Linked DNA regions of Homo sapiens: region 1 is linked to region 2. Evidence: promoter capture Hi-C in 16 types of primary human blood cells and fetal thymus (Javierre and others, 2016). All regions are on one chromosome and are shown on one strand. Each heading gives the region's core, a stretch centred on a gene start or on the middle of the fragment in contact. The rest is flanking DNA. Distances are from core to core; before and after follow the strand shown.

Evidence for each region. Contacts are between HindIII fragments. The CHiCAGO score rates a contact against its expected background, and 5 or more counts as called.
Region 1: the fragment with the promoter of RNASE3 here is called in contact with the fragment with the promoter of ZNF219 in region 2 in 3 of 17 cell types (M1 macrophages, M0 macrophages and megakaryocytes); the score reaches 7.5 in M1 macrophages.

The regions. Positions count from the first base shown.
Region 1 is chr14:20,887,762-20,893,645 of GRCh38, forward strand. RNASE3 (ribonuclease A family member 3) reads left to right here and starts at 3,624. Exons shown (of 2, transcript NM_002935.3): 1 at 3,624-3,690; 2 at 3,921-4,587. The coding sequence starts at 3,926. The coding sequence ends at 4,408. All of the region lies in intron 1 of LOC100507513 (a long non-coding RNA gene), which reads right to left. The HindIII fragment of the contact is 4,045 bases long and covers 3,590-5,884 here.
Region 2 is chr14:21,096,011-21,101,159 of GRCh38, forward strand. ZNF219 (zinc finger protein 219) reads right to left here and starts at 2,645. Exons shown (of 5, transcript NM_016423.3): 1 at 2,302-2,645. TMEM253 (transmembrane protein 253) reads left to right here and starts at 5,056. Exons shown (of 7, transcript NM_001395467.1): 1 at 5,056-5,149. RefSeq lists enhancers at 1,066-1,567, 2,327-2,827. The HindIII fragment of the contact is 7,101 bases long and covers 195-5,149 here.

The sequences.
Region 1 (5,884 bases), core at 2,374-4,873, 210 kb before region 2:
GCTGAGAAAGGAGAATCCTTTGAACCCAAGAGGCGGAATTAGAAGTGAGCCGAGATCGCGCCACTGCACTCCAGCCTGGGAGATAGAGTGAGATTTCATCTCAAAAAAAAAAAAGAAAAAAAAAGAAATATTTTTAAAATATGCAATGGTACATGAATGCAATTTTCCAGTTTCCTAGGAAACACCCTTTCTTTCATCCCTCCTAAGACACACCTCTCCATAATTCCACCTGAGCTCTGTTTCCATTTCTTCCCTTTCCAGATAGGGAAAGAACTTCTTATAGTTGAGGAAAAAGAAGAAAGGCTTAGTCCTTTCCTCTTTCATGCCAGAAACTTGATCAAAGGTGTCAGATCTACTTATTCAATGGTTTTCAGAGGAGACATGCAGGAGGACCCACACAAGAAGGAAGGCCTAGGGCCACCTTTCTGAGGTTCAAGAGACCAGGAAGAGCTCAGTACACCAACTATCTTTAGAACTTAGGTAAGTAAAATATTACTCCATTTGCTGCAATTTAATTAACCTGCACCATATTATTATGACAATCTTGTATTACTTTTAATGGCAAAAATCGCAATTACTTTTGCACCAACCTAGTAAATAGTGTGCATTGTCTTTCCCATAGATAGCCACTGCTGCATTAGGGAAATCTGTGTGCAGGAAGGTATCGATGGTTTGGTACCTCCCTGTCAGCAGGTTAAGAGCAAATATTGCAAGGGTACCCTGGGGCTGAAGAAATTGCAAGCATTGAACATTATATTTTTGCACATAAATGCTATGCAAAAAAGACATTGATCAATGCAGTGTACTCAACAGTGGTTTTTACCACAAATGCAGAAGTCTTTGTCTGGGATAATATTTTACAATGTTCATCGGTTTCCAAAAAATGACTTAACACTAGGGCGTAATTCTGACTATTCCTCTCATTGGAAGTGTGGATCAGGTCTGAAAATGTGTCGTTAAATTAGGCTGCAAGACAAGTTATGCTAATAAAATAAAGAGCCCGGGTGAAGTGCCTTGTGTCTGTTCAAGACAAAATCATGCTGAAGTTACAGAGAATTTTGTTTCGATTACAGAGATCATAACAGATAATTTTCTTTAATGTTGACTTATACTTTATTCCTGCTTCATATAAAACATCTTCTCTCAAAGGTCATAAATATCAAAGTAGATCATTTGTACTACTTCTGCTGGCAAATGAAGGTAGTTGGAAATGTACGCAGGAAATCTACACAAGGGACAATCAGAAAAACCTTATGAGCATGTTCTGAATGCAATTTTTATGGCTGGGAGCAGTGGCTCATACTTGTAATCCCATCACTTTGGAAGGCCGAGGTGGGCGCATTACCTGAGGTCAGGAGTTTGAGACCAGCCTGGCCAACATGGTGAAACCCCGTCTCTACTAAAAATACAAAAATTAGGCGGGCATTGTGTCGAGCGCCTGTAATCCCAGCTACTCAGGAGGCTGAGGCAGGAGAATCACTTGAACTTGGGAGGCGGAGGTGGAGGTTGCAGTGAGATCACGCCACTGCAGTCCAGCCTGGGTGACAAGAGCAAGACTCCGTCTCAAAAAAAAACAAAAAACAAAAAACTCCACAATTTTAAAGGATGAATATGGTTGCAAATTGGGCAGGTTATGGTCTGCTTAAGACACTTCAATAAGTCTGATATGTCATAAGCACAGATGTCTTCAGGAGCCAGGCAGGTGTCATCACTGAACAGATAGGATAAAAGTCAGGAGGGAGAGTGGAGTCAGAGAACAGCCCTGAGCTAGAGCCCCTTCCACAGACGCAGCTGTTACTCAGCTCTAATTGATACAACACCAATGGTGCACCAACCACCATCATGTGATTTTTAAAGATAAGACAGTAATGAAAACTTTTAGTGAACTATTCCAATGTCAAACTTTATCTTCCAAACCAAACATCATAAATAGCACTGTGTATGCTGAAAAGAAGCACTGTTTAGCCAAGTACCTGCCCTGGGGCTGCAGTCTATGTCTTTTGCCTCATACTATAGACACTTAAGTGCAAATGTTTCTAGCCAGTGTGGCTGTCAGCATCACAGAGGGGATACTCTACGTATCATTCACCTTTACATTCTCATCACCTACAAAAATGATCTCCACACAATATACATGAAAAAATAAACTTGCCTCATGATAAAGCTGCTAATGAATGTCGGCCAGAACAGGACTTCAAGGCAGAGCAATATTAGCTGCGCATTGAGTCCTCACCAGGTCACCATTGTGTCCACATTTACCTAAGGACCCCAGTGATAAAATTATTGCATTTCTAAATGACAGGAAAATTGGACGGTAGTAAAAATTAGGCAGATTAACTGTTGGAAGGTATATTATATCATTTAAGGGTCTACTTTCCATTTTCTAATCTCAAAGCTAGACCAGATTTAACATCTGTTAGTACCCAGGCCTTACCTTTGCAATTCACTTCTCACCTCTGTACAATTTCCCCACATCATCCCCTGTGCCCAGAATGCTCATCTCTTCTCTAAATCCCCTGAAAATCCCCTGCTTATCCTTTAGGACCTGCTGAAATAAACTTTTTTTTGAAGTTTTCCTTATTTCTCAAGCCAAGTGATTTCCTTCACCAGCAGTGTCCCTATGACACCATGTTCACACAAATGCTATTACCTCTATCACACTGTAATACAATTATATGTCTACAAGTACTTTCCTGTGTTTCTCTGAGGGCCAAGAATAAATGTATGCTTTGTGTATCAAACTGTACACTTGACCTCTATACTTTCAGGAATACAGTGCTCTGTCCTTAAATGTTCATTTGTAAATACAGAACCATATTCTTGTTAATATCACAAAATGAAACTTACCAGGAAGATGAATGACAACCCCAGAACACACTGTTTTGTAGAAAATACCATAGGCTGAAAAGATCACAGGAATACCGAGTGCTAGGTTGGAATCTTTCATGACACCAAATGTTCATTCATCCTCTGCCAGATTTTACAACTGTCCTCGGTGTGTTTTTAGGTTATGTAACTTTACACAAAGTGGAATCAATAATCAGGGCAAGACTTAAGAGAAAGTGGATCCAATGCAAGAGGAGTAAAGAAAAAAATTCCTCAATTGTATGGAGCAGATTGTTTTAATTATCTACAGAATCTTGTGCCCCAAGAAATTAATAGCTCAAGTTTCCAGCAAGAGTGGTGGATGAGATGGAGAGCATTTATGTGAGAGAGAACCAAGGATATTACTAAAAATGGAAGGGAAGCTGGGTTTCTCCTGGGCAAACAGCCCTCTGTGGCTCTATTTCTCCTAACTACTATGCCTGCCTTCGTGTCATTTAGTCATTTAGGGGCCTGCCAGAGGACAGTTATAAAATCTGTGGTCATTCTGCCGGCAGCGTATAGTTTTCACCCAGAGTCCAGATCCCACCGGCAAAACTCTGTCTAACACAGGATGACTTGGAATTAGAGTCCGTATAGCAGAAAGAGCAGCAGGGCTGTCCTTGGGTATCCGTTGCTCAGCCAAGTCATCAAATAAAAAGGATGATTGCACAAGTGGACCATGTGTCAATCTGTGGGTTTCTGCATGGCCAGACCCACCAAGGGAAGCTTTATTTAAACAGTTCCAAGTAGGGGAGACCAGCTGCCCCTGAACCCCAGAACAACCAGCTGGATCAGTTCTCACAGGAGCCACAGCTCAGAGACTGGGTAAGTCAACAATCCCCAGAGCTGGGACAGGAGGGGCAGCGACAGGGCAGCACCTGAGGGAGAGGTGAGCTGAAGTTAGTGCTTAGGAGATGTGGCACACTTTGGGGACAGGAAGAAAAGGAAATGCGACCCCAGAGTGGCAGCAGAGGGGCCTGTGGGTTGAGACACTATAGAGTGTGTCATAACCGAGACCGGATCGGGGAGTAGTTACTTCTCTTCTTTTCTTACAGGAAACATGGTTCCAAAACTGTTCACTTCCCAAATTTGTCTGCTTCTTCTGTTGGGGCTTATGGGTGTGGAGGGCTCACTCCATGCCAGACCCCCACAGTTTACGAGGGCTCAGTGGTTTGCCATCCAGCACATCAGTCTGAACCCCCCTCGATGCACCATTGCAATGCGGGCAATTAACAATTATCGATGGCGTTGCAAAAACCAAAATACTTTTCTTCGTACAACTTTTGCTAATGTAGTTAATGTTTGTGGTAACCAAAGTATACGCTGCCCTCATAACAGAACTCTCAACAATTGTCATCGGAGTAGATTCCGGGTGCCTTTACTCCACTGTGACCTCATAAATCCAGGTGCACAGAATATTTCAAACTGCACGTATGCAGACAGACCAGGAAGGAGGTTCTATGTAGTTGCATGTGACAACAGAGATCCACGGGATTCTCCACGGTATCCTGTGGTTCCAGTTCACCTGGATACCACCATCTAAGCTCCTGTATCAGCAGTCCTCATCATCACTCATCTGCCAAGCTCCTCAATCATAGCCAAGATCCCATCCCTCCATGTACTCTGGGTATCAGCAACTGTCCTCATCAGTCTCCATACCCCTTCAGCTTTCCTGAGCTGAAGTCCCTTGTGAACCCTGCAATAAACTGCTTTGCAAATTCATCTGGAAGTGTCTGTGTGTCTTCCTCGGCCGCTCTGCTGTCATTTAGTGACAATCTGCTCTAGAGATTTGGGTTTATCATGAATCTCTCCCCCTCAATATCTGACCAAATTCCTTAATTCCCCCATCATCCTTCATGTGATACCTGATTCCAGGCCTGCCTTAAAAAAAAATCCAATTGAGTCAACTTAGCATTGGTCTCCCTAGCCTTAATATCTCCTCTAAGCAATTTTCCATCCACTGACTCCTCCCCCAACACCAACCTATAACTTGTGTATAGATCTCCACTTGTTTTAGTTGTATTCCAGAATTGAGCCCAATTTGATATTGAGGTCCCATTTGATGCTTTATGGTCCGACTATGGTTTTTATTGACATGATTTCTATCCCAAGAAAAAAAGAGCTGCAGTGAATCAGCTGAAAATGCACGTGCTTCATTATGATTTATGAATGATAAATTTTGATAGAATTGAACGTTATGATAGAAAATAGAAAAGAAGAAAGTAGAAAAAGTCAAGAATGCTATAAATAAGGTGAAACCAAGATAAAGAAAAGTTTAGCCTCAGGGATATTTCTTTTAAATGGGCACATCAAGTCTCCAGCTATTAGCAATCGTAATAGAGGTGGAACCAGGGTTTGAGTCAAATGTGCAATAAGATAAATTGTTCCGACAGCAGTAAGGACAGATTGTAATGCTGACTGGAGGAGAGGTGGACATCTTTCCCAAAAGTTCCATGTCCTGGAGATGGGGAGCCGCTGGTCACGTGGGAAGGAGAAGGGGGAGGAGGAGGAGGAGGAAGTGGGAGCACTCATGAAGGTGAGTTGGCTCCTGCCCATTCTGCCCTCCATAGATGTTCCCAATGGCGAGTCAAAGGTTCATTCAACACCTGTCAGGAAGGGCACAGCCTCGAGAATTCAGGATTTGTAGACCCAGAGAGAGAAGAAATGGATGATGAGAGCCGCTGCCCTGGACTCCAACACAGGGCTTCACTCAGGAATCCATGAGAAACAGGGGAGAAAAAGGGGAAGCCCCTTCCTGCAAGTTGTGGACAGGTGCAGCATTCAAGTGATTGTTCCAGGAACAGAGTGGGTCTTTTTGAATGGCCCGACTCAGAATGCAAGAGAGGTACGATGCCATCAGATCTGCACCTTGGTCCTTCAGTCTGAGATTTCTGACTTCTATATTTCTCCTCCTCTTCCAGACCCTGAGAAACAGCAATTTCCATTCCTCAGATGACTCCATGTCAGTAATGGTGCTTTAATTGGCATCAGACAGCAGCTGTATTGAAGTCTCTCCTCT
Region 2 (5,149 bases), core at 1,395-3,894:
TCAGAGGAAGCAGATGGTGGAGGCGTGGGGCGGGGGGGCTGGGAATACTGCATGGTCATAGCTGACTAACCTATGGGCACATACTCTCATTCTGAGAAGATTCTAGGGCCCCTAAAACTGTCTGTAGGATAGCAAGCAAAATCTCTTAGGAAGCTGGCCTCATATCTGAGGCAAGAAGAGTCAGAAAAGGGCAAAGCTTCCTATCCCAAAACAAAACAACAATAAACCACTTTGCACATAGCAGTTTCCAGAACAGAAATAGAGTGATATACAAGAAGGCCCAAACTGAAGCTGAATTCCCCAGCACGGAAAGTTTCCCCAGAAGGTGGCCTAAAATCAACAAAACTCACTGAGATACCTTCTTAGGCCCAATGAAGATCTGAATCATCTCCATATCAAACCAGGTTCCAGACACCTGATCCCATGATTTTTTTCTCAGTAGGGGAAAGAACTGACAGGGACTGGGATACTATGAACTGCCTTGGAACCGAGGTCATGCATATATTGCCCCTGGACAATAATCACAGAGTTTTCTATAGTCAGGCCTTAAACACCATCCTCGAGACTTGGCCAGACAGCAGCACTGACCTACTTTCCACCCCCACTGGGAATCAGGGGTTATCTTGCCCTTATTTGGATTCTATAAGGATGCGGGGCCAGGGATAGATATCAGAAACCTTTCAAAAGCAGTAGGCCAATTATCCTTACATGCTGGGGCAGCTGGTAGGGAAGTGGGTGTGGACCACTAAACCTTACTCAGTAGAGAAGGATGGAATGGTTGGTGAAAAGACTTAGAAACAACAAGGACAGGTACATAGAAGTATTTGCTAAATGGACCACAAAGACTGTCCCTCAAGTCTTGTGATTCAAAAGTTTTTAGGGTCAAAGTGTAAGGAGCAAGGGTTCAGGACTTCTGGGGTCCAGTTGTAACTGCCTCTGGTCACCTCTAACACGATGGTTTTCCCTCTTGAGAATCCTAGACCTCCCAAATCTGCTAACAATTATGATTACCACTGCACTAGATGGGGTTAAAAGGAAAGGGAGCTTCTAGGGCGGTCTACGTTCAAAAGACTACCTTGATCACACAGACACACCAGTAGTTCACTTTTATGGTCTCCTCTCCATGGCCCTCTGAACCTCACTGCTCAGATAGCTCCTCCTAACCCGCTCCACTCTGCAGCTCACCAGCCTTTTTAGACTGAGATCTTGGTAAAGCCTCCTTCCCTCTGTCCTCACTCTCCTGAGTTAGGGACATGGAACCTCAGCCATGGACTTCAAAGGTACAGCAGGAGGCGAGAGGAAGGCACACCTGCTCACCTGCTGCCATCCCACCATGGGGAATCTTATCCCAGAGGCATGTCCTAACGCAACCCCGATTTTGATTTTGAAAGTTCTGGAAGACCTGGGTTTGGGAAAGAGGGGCATGTAGCCAGCCCTAAGTCCCTTTAAGTGGAGCTGACCCTAGAAAAGTCAGTCTTAGCACCCACGTGAGCCTCGGTCCTCAGACTGGGAGGTAGGGGCGATCAAGGGAGCCTCTGGGAAAATCCCCCTCCCAGAAATAGATTGCTAAGTAGGGTAGGACCTGCTATCCTGCCGGAGAGGTTTTTCCAGCAGCACCCCAGACCCCTCCCCAGGAAGATAAGCCAGAAGGATGATGGGGGGCAGGGTTGGGAGATAGGGAGGCCAAGGCTCAGCTACCCCCGGCCAGGAGAACAAAAGCTGAGTTACAGCCGCCTCCGCTGCTGCCGCGGGCCGAGCTCTTTGTGACACTTTGTTTGGGACGCAAAGAGGGAAGCACCCCCCATCCTTTCCCCTCCCCCGCCACCCCGTGCTTCCAGAGAGTTTGGGCTCCTTCCCCCTCCCCCACCAGCCCTACCTGGGCCGGGGGTTGGGGGGTGCACATCCACTCAGGCTCGCGGCTCTGCCGCCCCTCACCCCCAGGTCCCTCGCGCCCTGCCTTCGGGCCCCTACAAAGACACCCGCCACCTCCCCCGCCACATCCCCCCCGTTGGCCCTTCCCTTTGGTGTCTGCTCCCCCAGCTCTTCCACCTGGCCCCCCCTCCCTTGGGGCCCCCCAGCTCTCCAGGCTTCCGAGGCCGCCACCCCCACCCCGCCCCCCCAGGAGCTCTGGGCGAAGTTTGCTTGGGGCCGAGCCGGCGCCCCTCCCCCGCCCCCGCCCCCTGCACCTGCTCCGAGCCGGGCGCGCTGAGCGGGCCCCCCCTCCGGGAGGGGGGAGGGGGCCGGGGGCGGGGGCCGGGTGGCGGACGGGGGGGCCCGGGAGTCGGGGGAGCGGCTACTCACGAGCCCCGGGCGGGCGGCGGCGGAGCGGGCGGCGGCGGCGGCGGCGGCGGCGGGCGGCGGGCCGGCGGCGCGGGCGTCAGCGTTACGTGGGGCCGGGGGAGATGCGCCGGGCCCCGGCCCCCCCGCCCCCGGCCCGGCCCCCGCCCCCTCCCCGGTCCCCCGCCCCCGGCCCTGGCCCGCATTGTGTGCGGCGGGAGGCGGCCCGGCCATTAGCATGCGGGGGGCGGCGCGGCGGGGCTGGGAGCCGCGCGGGAGCCGGGCTCTGGCTCCGGGGACAGGGAGCTGGGGACCCCGGGAGCCGCGAGAGGCGGCCGCCAGGGGCGGGGTGCGGGCGGTTTGGAGACGGGGGGCGCTGTCGGAGGGAGGGAGGAAGGGAGGGAGCGGGGGTGGGGCGCACAGAGGATTCCAACAGGAGACTGGAAGAGATTTTGAAAGGTCATCTCGTCCTTCCCCCAGCCTCCAAGCAGCACTGCCCCTCCCTCCCTAAACCCGGACATACCAGGGAAGGAGTTGGCTCTGCCGCTCTTTCTGCCCCAACATGCACAGACTCGGGAAGTTCTTCCTGGGGTTTTATCTCAAAGCCTCTCCCTTACAATTTCTGTCTCTCTTTTGGGGGAGGAGGAGGGGCGATTATAGAGATAGTTAATGTCGGCCGTATAAGAAACATTATTAAAGTTACTCTTCGGTCCTTTCCGTTCTTGATAAACAATTCCTGCGCCTTCCTCTCGAATTCTATTTTCCATTCCTCAAGTCACTTTAATGGCTCTTCAATACAACAAATATTTACTGAGTGCTTACTAAGTGCCAGGCACTGGGCTCAGCGCTGTGAGGGATGAGAAAGAAGTGGTACCTTCCTTCCAGGCGATTGTAGTCTAGACTACAAACTGGTAAGTAGTATACTCAGATTTAGTCAATATTTACTGAATGCCTGTTCACCTATCTAATAGTATATAATCTTTCCAATAACCCTCTATAATTAAATTAGCCCCCATTTACAAGTAAGAAAAATGAGGCTTCAGGAAGTCTGTTTCCCCAGTGGCCTGCAGGCTCGGGGATCCTCAGTGCAAGCCCAACATCTCACATCGCCACCAAATAAAATCAATGCACGTGGGAATTGAGGAGGAGTAGACACACAGCAGTTTTCTGGATCTCTTTAAAACGTGACTCCCACTCCCCGGGAAAGAAAAGAGTAGATACAATGACCCGCCGATGTTGGCACAGCACTGATGGGGCAGGAGTGGCTTACAAAAGATCACTTGCCTCCCAGGACCCTGCCTCCCTCCTCGTACTAACTTCTAGAGTCTTCTGGCGCAGTCTCCTCTTATCGTCAACAACAAGAAATAATAATAGTGATGATGATCATAGCCACTAACATTGAGCACTTGTGTACCAGGTACTGGGCTAAGCTCTCTTCCATGCTGAAAGCAACCCCTTGAGACTGGTATTATTAACTTCCTTTTATAGATAAGGGAACAGAGAGATTAAGCAACTTGCCAAGGGCACCTAGGTAGATCTGGGATTTGTTTTGATCTATAGAGTATATTTGGGCCCAGCTGGTTCTGCTTCCGACTGTAGAAATGTGTCCCCAGCTTCCTTCTGAATAACACTTTTAGTGTATGGGCATCAGACTTATCGGTGTGACCTCATCAGCACCACTAATAGTTATTAAACACCCACCCTGAATCAACAACTCTTCACAGTCATATTGTTAGCCCCCTTTTATCAGTGAATAAACTGAGGTGCGAATAGGTAGAAAAACATATCTATCAGGACAGACACAGTGGCCCACACCTGTAATCCCAGCAGTTTGGGAGGCCAAGCAGGGAGGATGGCTTGAGCCCAGGAGTTTGAGACCAGCTTAGGCAACATTGTGAGACGACCCTGTCTCTACAAAAAATTTAAAAATTAGCCAGGCATGGTGGCATGTGCCTGTGATCCCAGCTACTTGGGAGACTGAGGCAGGATGATTATTTGTGCCCAGAAGGTGTTGGCTACAGTGAGCCATGATCATGCCACTGCACTCCAGCCTGGGTGACAGTGAGCCCCTGTCTCAATAATATAATAATAATAATAATAATAATGTATCCAAGATCACACAGATGGAGAAGCAGCAGAGCTAAGATTCCAGCTCAGGTCTGTCTGGCTATGAGGCACCTTCTCTCTCAAAAATATTAATTGTTGCAATAGCATCCTTCCCAAGACTCACTATTTGAGGACCATGAGATAGATAGATAGATAGATAGATAATGTCCAGTTGCAGGTTATCATTGAATCAAAAACAATCCCCACCATAAACAGGGTCCCCCCCATCCATTGAGTCAGTGTTCAGTTCAGAGTAAAACCTTCAAGAAAGAAGGAAGGGAGACTGTCCAGAAAGTGAGAGGCAAGAAAGCCCCTGGAATTCAACCTTACCTGGTCTGGGGGCAAAGCTGCAAGTAGTAATGACAGGGGACCAATCCAGACAGAAAGTAGGATCTCTAGGGAAGGGCACATAATTTGAGGAGGAAGCCAAAGAAAGGAGTAAGATCATATGGAAATGAGGGGGAATTGAGGTCCAGAGTGATAGTGTCCATGGGGATGAGGTAAGTGAAACCAGAAAAGGAACCCAGGATGGGCAGAAATGAGGGTAATGAGAAATGGGAACAGAGTGAGGTCGGGCTAGACATCTTGTGGAGTGAACTGAGGCCGGTATCTACCCAGGGCCACTCCCTAGATCCTTAGGCCTTCATAGAAACCTTTGCCCCACCACACCCCATCCCTGACAGCCTTCCTCTGCCAGGACAAGTTTGTCGTCTGCTCTGAGCTATCAAGCCCCTTAGGAGACCTAGGACCCAGCTGGGTCCCATCC